Linked DNA regions of Homo sapiens: region 1 is linked to region 2. Evidence: promoter capture Hi-C in human tissues and cell types (Jung and others, 2019). All regions are on one chromosome and are shown on one strand. The core of a region is centred on a gene start or on the middle of the fragment in contact, and the rest is flanking DNA. Distances in the headings are between cores, read along the strand shown. Region 1 overlaps LOC105377551 (a long non-coding RNA gene). Region 2 holds the start of HAND2 (heart and neural crest derivatives expressed 2).

Evidence for each region. Contacts are between HindIII fragments. The study calls those that stand out against the background at their distance.
Region 1: a contact is called between a fragment that was not itself captured here and the fragment with the promoter of HAND2 in region 2, in 1 of the 25 tissues and cell types used here (lymphoblastoid cells).

Annotation. Positions count from the first base shown.
Region 1 is chr4:174,623,487-174,629,228 of GRCh38, reverse strand. It overlaps LOC105377551 (a long non-coding RNA gene), which reads right to left. Exons shown (of 4, transcript XR_939494.3): 1 at 1,640-5,742. Among named protein-coding and RNA genes, the nearest start is that of HPGD, 100 kb to the right of the region's middle. The HindIII fragment of the contact is 6,340 bases long and covers 638-5,742 here.
Region 2 is chr4:173,527,743-173,533,262 of GRCh38, reverse strand. HAND2 (heart and neural crest derivatives expressed 2) reads left to right here and starts at 3,034. Exons shown (of 2, transcript NM_021973.3): 1 at 3,034-4,528. The coding sequence starts at 3,974. It overlaps HAND2-AS1 (HAND2 antisense RNA 1), which reads right to left and starts at 2,892. Exons shown (of 5, transcript NR_136196.1): 1 at 2,724-2,892; 2 at 2,185-2,296. The HindIII fragment of the contact is 12,639 bases long and covers 1-5,520 here.

The DNA of each region.
Region 1 (5,742 bases), core at 2,558-5,057, 1.1 Mb before region 2:
CAATGAAATATAGCCAGTTATCAAATGTTGGTTATAGTGGAAATTGAGACATACAATGGATTGTCAGGGTGACTGTAGCCTAGATTATTTAATCATTTTCTTAAGAAAATTAAATATAACTATTCTGACTGGATATAAGTATCAATTCTATTTATGGCTTATTTGTCTTGTGCCTGTGTCCTTCCACATTACAGGGAGTTATATTACCTTTCAAAACAGATACAATAATGCATTGCAGTGCACCACACCTCTCACATTGAGAATTTATGGACTTACACATGCCTTGAAGTCGGAAAGTTGAGAGTAAAAAAGAATCTGAATGACAATATAACCACAATTTTTTTATAGTACATTTCATGTGGTTAAAAAGATTATTTAAAAATACAAAATGGTCTTTTATTTGTCCCAGAAAGTGTTATTATTACAAGGCAAATTTTTACTCTGATCTCTAATACGTTAATCACATGTTCCCAAAATTATCACCACTCAAATTTGCAATTATCCAGATGATTTATTATGATTTAGTCTAAATATTATTATCAATCCAGATGATGTATTATGATTTAGTCTAAATATTATTGTCATGACAATTGCTGAGTTTGTTTTACTGTTTGGTGTTCCCCCAAATTCCCTCCAACTCTATCACGCCAGATTTTTTAACCTGGCGAAGCCATTTCGAATCAATGTGATCCTCTGATTTTTTGCTCTCTCACTCCAAAGAAAACCAGAAGAATTTTCTCCAAGCAATTCTGCCTAGTTTTTTTGTGAGGCTCGGATGTATTTATAAACATAACAGGAATGGAAGCTGCCAGCAGCACTGTGCTAAATGGGCTCAGCATACACGCCAACCATGGGGACGTGTAAAAAGCAAGTCAGTGAAAGATTTACTAACATTTGCAATGTGTTTCCTTGGTAACGAGTTCACACTTCAGGGGATAACTTTGAAAGCCACCTGAAACATTTTGAACATTTTAATCCTTTTACACCAATGAATTACAATAGAATATGTGCAACTTTGAATTTTAACAATCATTGTCCCAGTGGGGCTAGTGGGTAAATATCAAAAACATCTGCGGTAGATTCTGGGATCTTGGCAAATTACATCAAGATTCAATCATTGAAACAAAAATGGGAAGGTAAATCATATTCAAAATATGCTTGTCAGTAATGAGTGTGAATATAATACTTTGTATATGGTGTTTATCACACTTTTATACATTGAGGAGGCAGAATGAGGTCAACCAGATGTTGCATACGGGTTTCAAGTATCCACGTTTTCAACCTTTTCACACAATTTTACGTAGTAAAACAACCTAAAGAAAATGAAAAAAAAAAAAGTGTATCCAAACCAATAGAGATTTACACATAGCAAAGGTGAGAATGACATTGAAAACTTTCTCAGTGATATTATATAACAACGTAAGTCATCTTGCAGAAGAATTACTGTAGTATCTGGAGGCTAACTGTATTATGTCAATTCACCCCTATGATTCAGAACTTATGGCATATAAAAGATATGTTAATATTGCACATATCCCTTTGGAAATCACTGCGATTCATGATGATGTCACTGTATACAATAATATGTGCTTCTACAGTGATTGATGGTTCTAGAAAGATTTCAAAGAACAGTTAGTACCTGTTGATGTAACTGGTGACAAGGTAACCAATAATATTGTCACCTCATCATCCTATAGTATTTGTAGTCCTCTAGCTGTAGATAGTTGTGATGATGTGTATTCAAGACTGAATAGGACACCTATCCTCAAGAAAAATGAAATTAGGAGACAAAAGATGAGTATTGGATTATAAAATCATATCCATATAAATGTAATTACTGAGAACACAAAGGGAATTCTACCAAAATTGTTTTAAAAGGTAGCATAGAAAAGTGATTAAGAGACTGTTGGAGCCAAACTACCTAAATTAAAAAGCTGTTTGCACCATCTGCTAGTAATAGGTGGTACTACTAGCAGCATCTACTTTAGGCAATTTTTAAACCTCTTTTTGCCTTTATTTCCCCTTATTAAAATGTGGATACTTTTAAAAATTGTCATGAAACTTCAATGAATCAATATTTGTAAAAGACACACATATAAGACTGCCTGTTAAAATGAAATAAACAAATCACATTTTTATTTGTTAAACTCAGACTACAAGGAACAAATGCTCACTTGGATTAATTCAGGTAATACAAGTTAATTATTAAGATACAGAAAAAATGATGAAAATAATCTTGGCCATTGGGATATAAACTCCAGGAAGGTGAGTGCACTACTGTTCATTAATGTATCCTGATTTGGAATATGCACTTGGCCTGTAGGCACTTGATAAGTATTTGTGTAAATAATAGTGATTGAAGCATGGGAAAGCCAGTATTTCTAGATACTGGAAAGTCATTTAAAATATACACCAAAACACTAGCAATAATTAACTACCTGATTAGACCCTGAGAGCAAGCATACACTACTTCCTACTCTACAACTACTGAGAGGAGTAGGAGAAAGTCTTCACCTGACTTGTAGTTTCTCTACAATCACTTTCAGCTTCTTCTCTCACCACCAAATGCTAACCTCCTCAGTAGATCCCCTAGTCAGACCCTCCAAAAACAAGAATTTAATTGCTTTGGCCACATTCCAATATAGCCTCCCTCTATTGGGCAGAGTTTTGCATCTGGGCTACCTCTCAATCTTTTAGCCACTTTATAAGTTGACTTAGTTTGGTTTACATAACCACTCCTGGTTTCATTAGCTGTGGCCAAGATAAGAGAAATCTCATACAGAAATAGTATAAAGATAGCATGCAATCTGTGTGTAAGAAAACTTTAAGAAGACTGTAAGAATGGCATTCGTTTGGAAGCTACCTAGAAAGGAACTGTATAAAATAGGAAAAAGTTTACTTCTCCTATCTAAGACAAATTGATTGAAAAATGGTTTCATTTGGGAAAGGGGGAAAACCCTAAAGTACACTAAATAATAAACAACATAATTATTAATAGTAAGATGCAACCACTTGCATGTAAAGGAATAGTTTATAAATAGTTCAACCACGAGGGTAGCTGTAAGAGGGATAAAATGTCCATTTAGGAGGACTTTATTTATCAGTTGTGTCACCAAAATAAAATGGAATTGGTTTAAAACTTATGGAACTAGCAGCAAATGTCAGGGGTTGCCCGTTCTCTGTGCTAATCTATTCTTGTAATTATGAGTATTCTTCAATAGACCCAGTTGCAGAGTGTAAAGTTGGTATTCCCGAAGACAGGAAACACAAACTAAGTTCCGCCATGGCATACATTGGCCTATTAAAACTCTTTACATGTTGAGAAAATTTTGGCAATCTATCCATCTGACAGTGGGCTAATATCCAGAATCTACGAGGAACTTAAACAAATTTCCAAGAAATAAACAACCCCTTCAAAAAGTGGGCAATGGATATGAACAGACATTTCTCAAAGGAAGACATTTATGCAGCCAACAAACATATGAAAAAAAGCTCATCATTGGTCATTAGAGAAATGCAAATCAAAACCACAATGAGATACCATTTCATGCCAGTTAGAATGGTGATCATTAAAAAGTTAGGAAACAACAGATGCTGGAGAGGATGTGGAGAAATAGGAATGCTTTTACACTGTTGGTGGGAGTGTAAATTAGTTCAACCATTGTGGAAGAAAGTGGGGCAATTCCTCAAGGATCTAGAACCAGAAATACCATTTGACATAGCCATCCCATCACTGGTTATATACCCAAAGGATTATAAATCATTCTACTATAAAGACACATGCACACATATGTTTATTGCAGCACTGTTCACAATAGCAAAGACTTGGAACCAACCTAAATGCCCGTCGATGATAGACTGGATAAAGAAAATGTGGCACATATACACCATGGAATACTATGCAGCCATAGAAAGGATGAGTTAATGTCCATTACAGGGACATGGATGAAGCTGGAAACCATCATTCTCAGCAAACTAACACAGGAACAGAAAACCAAACACGGCATGTTCTCACTCATAGGTGGGAGTTTAACAATGAGAACACATGGACACAGGGAGGGGAACATCACACACCGGGGCCTGTCAGGGGGTAGGGGGCCGGGGGAGGGATAGCATTAGGAGAAATACCTAATGTAGATGACAGGTTGATGGGTGCAGCAAACCATCATGGCACTTGTATACCTATGTAACAAACCTGCACGTTCTGCACGTGTATCCCAGAACTTAAAGTATAATAATAGTAAAAAAACTCTTCCTATGTTTACTTAAGTATAGCGCTTCTATTTTATTTTGCTCATTCACATAAATAAATTATTTGCCATACATCACATCTTCAATAACATTTATTGAAACAGATTATCTTAACTCAAAACTGTCACCAGCATTATTCCTAGAGTACTATTTCAATTATAGCCTGATTAAAGGGTTTCCAATTCAAACAACTTTAATACTATGATTGTCACAAAAAAATACATTATTAATAAATTGCAAAAAAGAGACACATATTGAATCAATCAATGCTTAATAGTCAAGAAATGAAAACATAGCTCTAAGTAACTTTTATAACACTTTTATTGAGGTATAATGCAGATGCCACATTTTTTTAATGTACAATTCATTGGGTCTTTGTATATTCACAGAGTTACATAAACATCACGACTATCTAAGTCCAAAATATGTCATCACCCTAAAAAGAAACCTCATATGCATTTCCAGTCATTCCCCATTCCCTCCCATCCTTCCCTTACCCATTGGTAACCACTGATCTATCTATTTCTGAACATTTCATTTGAATGAACTCATGTAATACATGGCCTTTTGTGTATGGCTTGTTTCACTTAGCATAATGTTTTTAAAGTTCATCCTTGTTGCAGCATGTATCACTATTTTATTTCTTTTTTATGGTAGGATAATACTCTATTGCATGAACATAACAGCTCTTGTTCATTCTTGTCACAGCATTTAGAAATACAATGATTAGAAGCATTGTTGGGACCACATGGTGCAGAGCACTCTTCTGGGCAAGAATAAATAGGTAAAAACGCCATCTACAAGCAATCATGGTTCAACTGTTTGGGCTAAAATGGTCAATCAATTCTGTTAACAAGACTCTAAAAATGACGACTCAAAACTTGATGTAACTCGACAGTCATCTCAGAAAATAAATTTTTAAAAAATTGAATATAGATATAAAGTGTTCAAAAGAAACAATCCTCAATGATATTTGAGTCTCAGTTTCTTTTTTTTTTTTTCTTTTGGAGACAGGGTCTCACTTTGTTGCCCAGGCTGGAGCACAGTGGCCATTCCCAGGCTCACAGGCACGGTCACAGTGCACTGCAGCCTCAAACTCCTGGGCTGAAGTGATTCTTCCACCTCAGCTTTCAGAGTAGCTGAGATCATAGGCACATGCAACTGCAGCCAGCTCTCCTCATATTTTTGAGAATTATATTCTCTCCTGTTTTTCCTATTATACAGGGCCATTTAGCTGATAAGAGGACAATCTGAGATACTGTGTATCTCATGTGTTTTTCCTTCTGTAATATGAAAATAACCCAGTCATTATACTCCTCAGATGCTTTTTGATTGAGTCATAACTGTATGATTGGTCAAAATATTATAGCATATTCAACTATTTTAAAATATATGTATTGGATCCAGGGAATGTACTAGACATTGTCCATGATGTAAATATATCCATTGTTACTTGGTATGGACATTTTAAGGCAGTAGCATATAATTGTC
Region 2 (5,520 bases), core at 1,785-4,284:
CAGTTCCCTGGGCCTTTGAGTACTTACAACATGTGCATCAGCAGCTACACTAGTGCAGCCCAGGAGTGGGGTCCCCATGCTGACATCGATGTCAGGGACTGTGCCTTTCTCCCTTTCTTCTCCCACTTTCCCTCTCATCACCAACACCACCCTCTCCTTCATTGCCACCACTGCCAACACCTCCATCACTACCACCAGGATGCCCAGGACACCTAAATTGAGGGCAAACTTGAGATGGCATCCTTGCTTCACAACTTCCCAAAGGAGCAGGCTAACCCAGTATCCTGGAAAACCTGGAACAAAACAGGCCAAAGGACACTGCAAGAGAAAAGTGGATGCGTTTGTGCATTTAGGGTAGAGCTCAACCAGTCAGGGCCAGCCTGGCCTCCCTGAGTCAGTTACTACAGTTGGGGACACCACTAGGGTTCATCCATTTGTCCCCTCTCATCAAGCCAGCTTTCTAAGGCAGTGACCTCTGGATTTGGGTTTCTGAGCCACATCAAGTCTTAGGCCCTTGGACCACAGCAGTTAACTGATAATGACACTGTGAGTGAGAACTGATGTTCAGATTAGCATCTTTTATGATTTCTTTTTTCTGTACCATGTTGTCCATTTCCTTTACCACTTGCAATGCTATCTGGAGCCACGAGGTAATTCATTCATTTTTGTTTGTTTGTTTGTTTCAATTAAAAGCATGAGAAAAGCTAAATGTGGCAAGTTCTGAAGCTTTCAAAAGTGAGGCCACTCACCGCTGGTCTCTGGTGGACAGAGCATCTCAATCCCTAACTCAGCCCTCCTCTGGACTCTTCTTCCTCCCTTCAATTCCCAAAACTCCCTTTGGGTCTTAAAGCAGCCAACCAACTAATTTCCCTGAATTTTTATATGTTCCCAGCCCCAGTGCAATCTTACTTTGTCTACCTGCTCCCAAGGCCTAAATGTGTTTTTATAAACAGACTTTTCAAAAACGTATCAAATGTCAGAGAATTGAACTACCAGTATTTACACATTCGGGGTTTGCCTCCGGGTGAAAATGTAAACAGAACCCCCAACCACACTACCTGCATTCTTTCCTTGAAGAACCAGGTCTTTAAAAGGCTCTCCTTGTGCTAAAAAATTGCAGACCCACGCAAGTTGGGGGTTTAGAGCAGTAGGTCACTATTTTGTTCCGAGCTCAACTGCAAGCCCCTGGCGCTTACCAACGAGCCTAGTTTCAGTTAATCCCTATTCTAGGTTCAATGCTTTAAGACGCTTGTCTGGGGACGTTCAAGGATGTTAACCCCTTTCCTAGAAAAAGAATGGGCCCTGCACCGACTCTAATCCTGGGCTTTTAAGTCCCTGTCTCCTACCGCCCAGCCGCGGCAAACCTGAAATATATATATTTCTCAATCCTGCTGCCCAAGACTCTAGGGCTAGTGGAGGGCAGAGCCCGAGCACAGAGTCAACTGCAACACCGAAGTTGGGCGCCCTCCATTCGCACTGACCTCGCCTTCCTGCCCCAACCACTTTGTCGGCGGTGAGCAAGGAAAGGACTGTCCTTGTGGAGTCCTTCGGGTGGGGATCGCTTTGTGGCCTGCGGCCGGACTCTGCCCGCCTCCAAAGGGCGATGCTCAAGGTGGAGTCTTTGGTCTCCCTTGGGCTAACCTGGCCTGACCAGCGGCGAGCCCCAGGCCGCCCTGTCCCGCGCTGGCGCCGCAGGCCCTCGCCTCCCTCTAATTTACAGCCCGCGGGCTCCTGTTGACACCGTTTTCCACACCGAACTCCTTCGGGTGGAATCTGCATATACACATCAGCCTCCCCTCTCGGCTTGGGGCCAAGCCTGGGGTGATTTCAGCTCCTGCCATTTACCACCCGCCCTCGCCGCACGTGAGCCTTCTCAAGAAGCTCATGCCACACGGGCGCTGCGGCCCGGGTGCCCCGCGGCCCGGTGACTTACAAGTGGAGATCCATTTTCCGTTATAATGCGTTCAAGATCACCAAGGCCAGCAGTCTCAACATCCACGAGCCGTCCTCCCGGCCTGCCTCTTAAACTGGCGTTTAATGGTTCCCCTCCGATAACTAAACCTGCTTTCCACAGATGCCCGCTTTTATGAGGGAGGCAGGAATGCAGAGATATATTTATATGTTTGTTCATAAAAACTGGAAAATAAGCTCTGAACACGCCGTAAAAAATATTCAGTTACTTACCAAACAGGCTAGTTAAACCAGGGGAACACCGATACCAGCCACACTACAGATTCGGGGAATCGAGGTGCCCGCACTTCAAAATCGCCCAAGGTCTTCGTAGGGACTGGTGTCCCTGAAGGATGTGGAAATAACAGCATTTACAATCGGCTTGACATGTTCGCCCGGAGGACTCAGCCGTCATCTCCAAAGTTTGCCGCAATAACGTGAGCCACCCCAAACAGCTCTAACCGGGGTAACTTGGTGGGTAACTCAATAGCCACTGAGACCGGCGTTTCGAGCCTGTAAACGGGTCAAAGAAACACCCTTCTCCAGCCGCTCCTCGTCCCTGCTGGGGCAAAGAGCGCCAGCTCCCAGCCGCGCCTTTGTGGGGGCCCCCACCGCCCGTCACGAGGCTCCCGGCGCCCCTGCATAAAATTGTAAGAGGCTGCCTGCGTATATTTTCTTACCTCGATTACCTACAAAGCACTTCGAAAAGCAATACCTGCGTTTTCTTTCTTTCTTTCTTTTCAACCAGAAAAGAGAGCAGAGTGATACTGTACCTGGTTAGAGATTCTTCAATATTTGAGACTTGGGGGGAAAATATTTTAATAGTGAAGCATCTGTTAAACACTTGCATTATCCTCTGACTGATAAAAAAAGTTTTTTTAACCCTGCCCCCCCCCCCCGCCAAGTTTTAATTATCTTATGGTTATGAGGAGGTAGCCAATCCTGGAAGAGGACCTCGGCAATTAGCAACGTGAACATCAAAAAGTTTTATTGCCGAGAGCTCGAGGCGCCGCCCCTGCCGCCCCGGGATTGGCGTGAGGAGCCTCTGACGACATATATTAACCCGAGCGGCCCTAAAGATGTAGCTGTACATGGAGATCTTGCTGGGAAAATCCGCTTGCTCCCCTCACGTCGTCCAGCCCAGGAGAACCACCGCCGTCACCCCGGAGCTTCCTCGGCCACCGCGCAGAGCCCTCCGAGAGCCCGAGCCGCGGTCTTCGAGCTCCAAGGCTCATTCAGGGCCCCAGATCCTTGCCCCGAAAGGAGAGGATCTGAGAAAATGGATGCACTGAGACCTCTCTGAAAACCCTCCGAGAGAGCGCGAGAGGAGCGAGGACACGTTACTCGCAGCTAAAATCACATTTAAGGACCAAAACAACAACAACCAAAAATTTCATTAAAACAATAAGCGCCCAAGAACCCAGATCGGGCTGGTGGGGGGAGGGGAAGAGGCGGGAAGGGGAGGGTCGCACGGAGGTAGCTTTGCAGTGAGCAGTCGACCCCGCCGCCCCCCGGCACAGCTGGACCGGCTCCTCCAGCCGCGGCTCAGACTCGCCCCTGGATTCCGGGTTAGCTTCGGTGCCAGGACCGCGGCCCGGGCTTGGATTCCCGAGACTCCGCGTACCAGCCTCGCGGGAGCCCCGGCACCTTTGTATGAGCACGAGAGGATTCTGCCTCCGCGCAGCAGCCCGGGAAGCAGGAGCCGAAGCGCGGGCCGTGGAGCAAGGCGGGAACCGGAGGCGGCGGCGGCGGCGGCCAGGGGCGCACGGTGCCAGGACCAGCTCGCCGCGCCCCATGGGGAGCCGGCGGCCGCAGCGCTGCTGAGGCGGGCCCGGCTGGCCAGGCGGGGGGACGGGGCCCGGGCTGCAGCAGCCCCCTCTGCGGCTGCCGGGCGGGCCCGGGCGCCCGGGGGCTGGGGGGTGGGGGGTGGGGGAGGACGCCGAGCGCTGAGGCAGGGGCCCGGGCCGAGGGCGCGGCGGGGCTGCGCGCACGCTGGGGCGCGTGGAGGGGCGCGGAGGGCGAAATGAGTCTGGTAGGTGGTTTTCCCCACCACCCGGTGGTGCACCACGAGGGCTACCCGTTTGCCGCCGCCGCCGCCGCAGCTGCCGCCGCCGCCGCCAGCCGCTGCAGCCATGAGGAGAACCCCTACTTCCATGGCTGGCTCATCGGCCACCCCGAGATGTCGCCCCCCGACTACAGCATGGCCCTGTCCTACAGCCCCGAGTATGCCAGCGGCGCCGCCGGCCTGGACCACTCCCATTACGGGGGGGTGCCGCCGGGCGCCGGGCCCCCGGGCCTGGGGGGGCCGCGCCCGGTGAAGCGCCGAGGCACCGCCAACCGCAAGGAGCGGCGCAGGACTCAGAGCATCAACAGCGCCTTCGCCGAACTGCGCGAGTGCATCCCCAACGTACCCGCCGACACCAAACTCTCCAAAATCAAGACCCTGCGCCTGGCCACCAGCTACATCGCCTACCTCATGGACCTGCTGGCCAAGGACGACCAGAATGGCGAGGCGGAGGCCTTCAAGGCAGAGATCAAGAAGACCGACGTGAAAGAGGAGAAGAGGAAGAAGGAGCTGGTCAGTACCAGGGGGCGGCAGGCGGTGGGGCTGAGGGGGTCAGGGAACTGGTGCTCCCGGCCTCTTTCCAATTGGGCTGAGAAATGGCATCTCGTGTTCTTTGGCTGCGTCCCGCTTCAAGGTTGTTTGCACCAGGTTGTGTAAGGATGGCTTCCGGCATAAGCAGAGAGTTGAGGGGAGGGTGTCAGCAGGAGGAGGAGAAGGTTAGGGATGCTTTGCGCTGGTGATCTTACCTCCGGGTTATCGCTGCTCCCCTAGTACTTAGGACGGACCTTGAAAACTCTGGGTCGCGATCGATCGCGATCGCACTGGTCTGGATGCCTCACCCCGTCTCTGTTAGACCCTTCTTTTGGCCTCCAATCCAATCTTGCTTTCAGATGTTTCCAGAATAAGTCTCGAAGAAGCCCTTGATTCCAATTATTTCACTATTGATCGCACCCCCTACCCCACTCCCAGAAGGAGGCTGCCAGAGACTGAGCCCTGAGTTTTGTGGTTGTTCTCATACTATGCCCGGAAAACGTAATGGTAAACATAAAATAAGTACTTTTGACTTCAAAATACAGCTCCAATTTTTCCTTGGCTATGACGTTAAAATGTAATTTCCCAGATGAGTATATTCCATTGGCATTTCTAATTTTATTTGAATAAGCCTGTACATTTTAAGGGGGAAAAGGCATTACTATGGTCATTGTTATTAAAAATAACACGAAAGTAAATTGAGCCGCTTAAAATTTTCTCAGATTCCTACCAAGTGCCCACAGGGCAGTGGTGCAGGATAGAGCTATGTCCACGAAGGGCCCGGAAAATAATTGCATTTGTCGAATTTTTCTTCTTTGGCCCCTGCAGCCCTTTGGTGGCTGCATAATCGAGTGACCTCCCGAATAACCAGAGATTTCAGAAGCCTTGGAGGAGAGGCACTGCTGAGCTGGAGGCCGAGAGCCTCTGGCCGAGAGGCCCAGGCCGAAACAGAGGCTCCTTCGCCCTATTTTTCC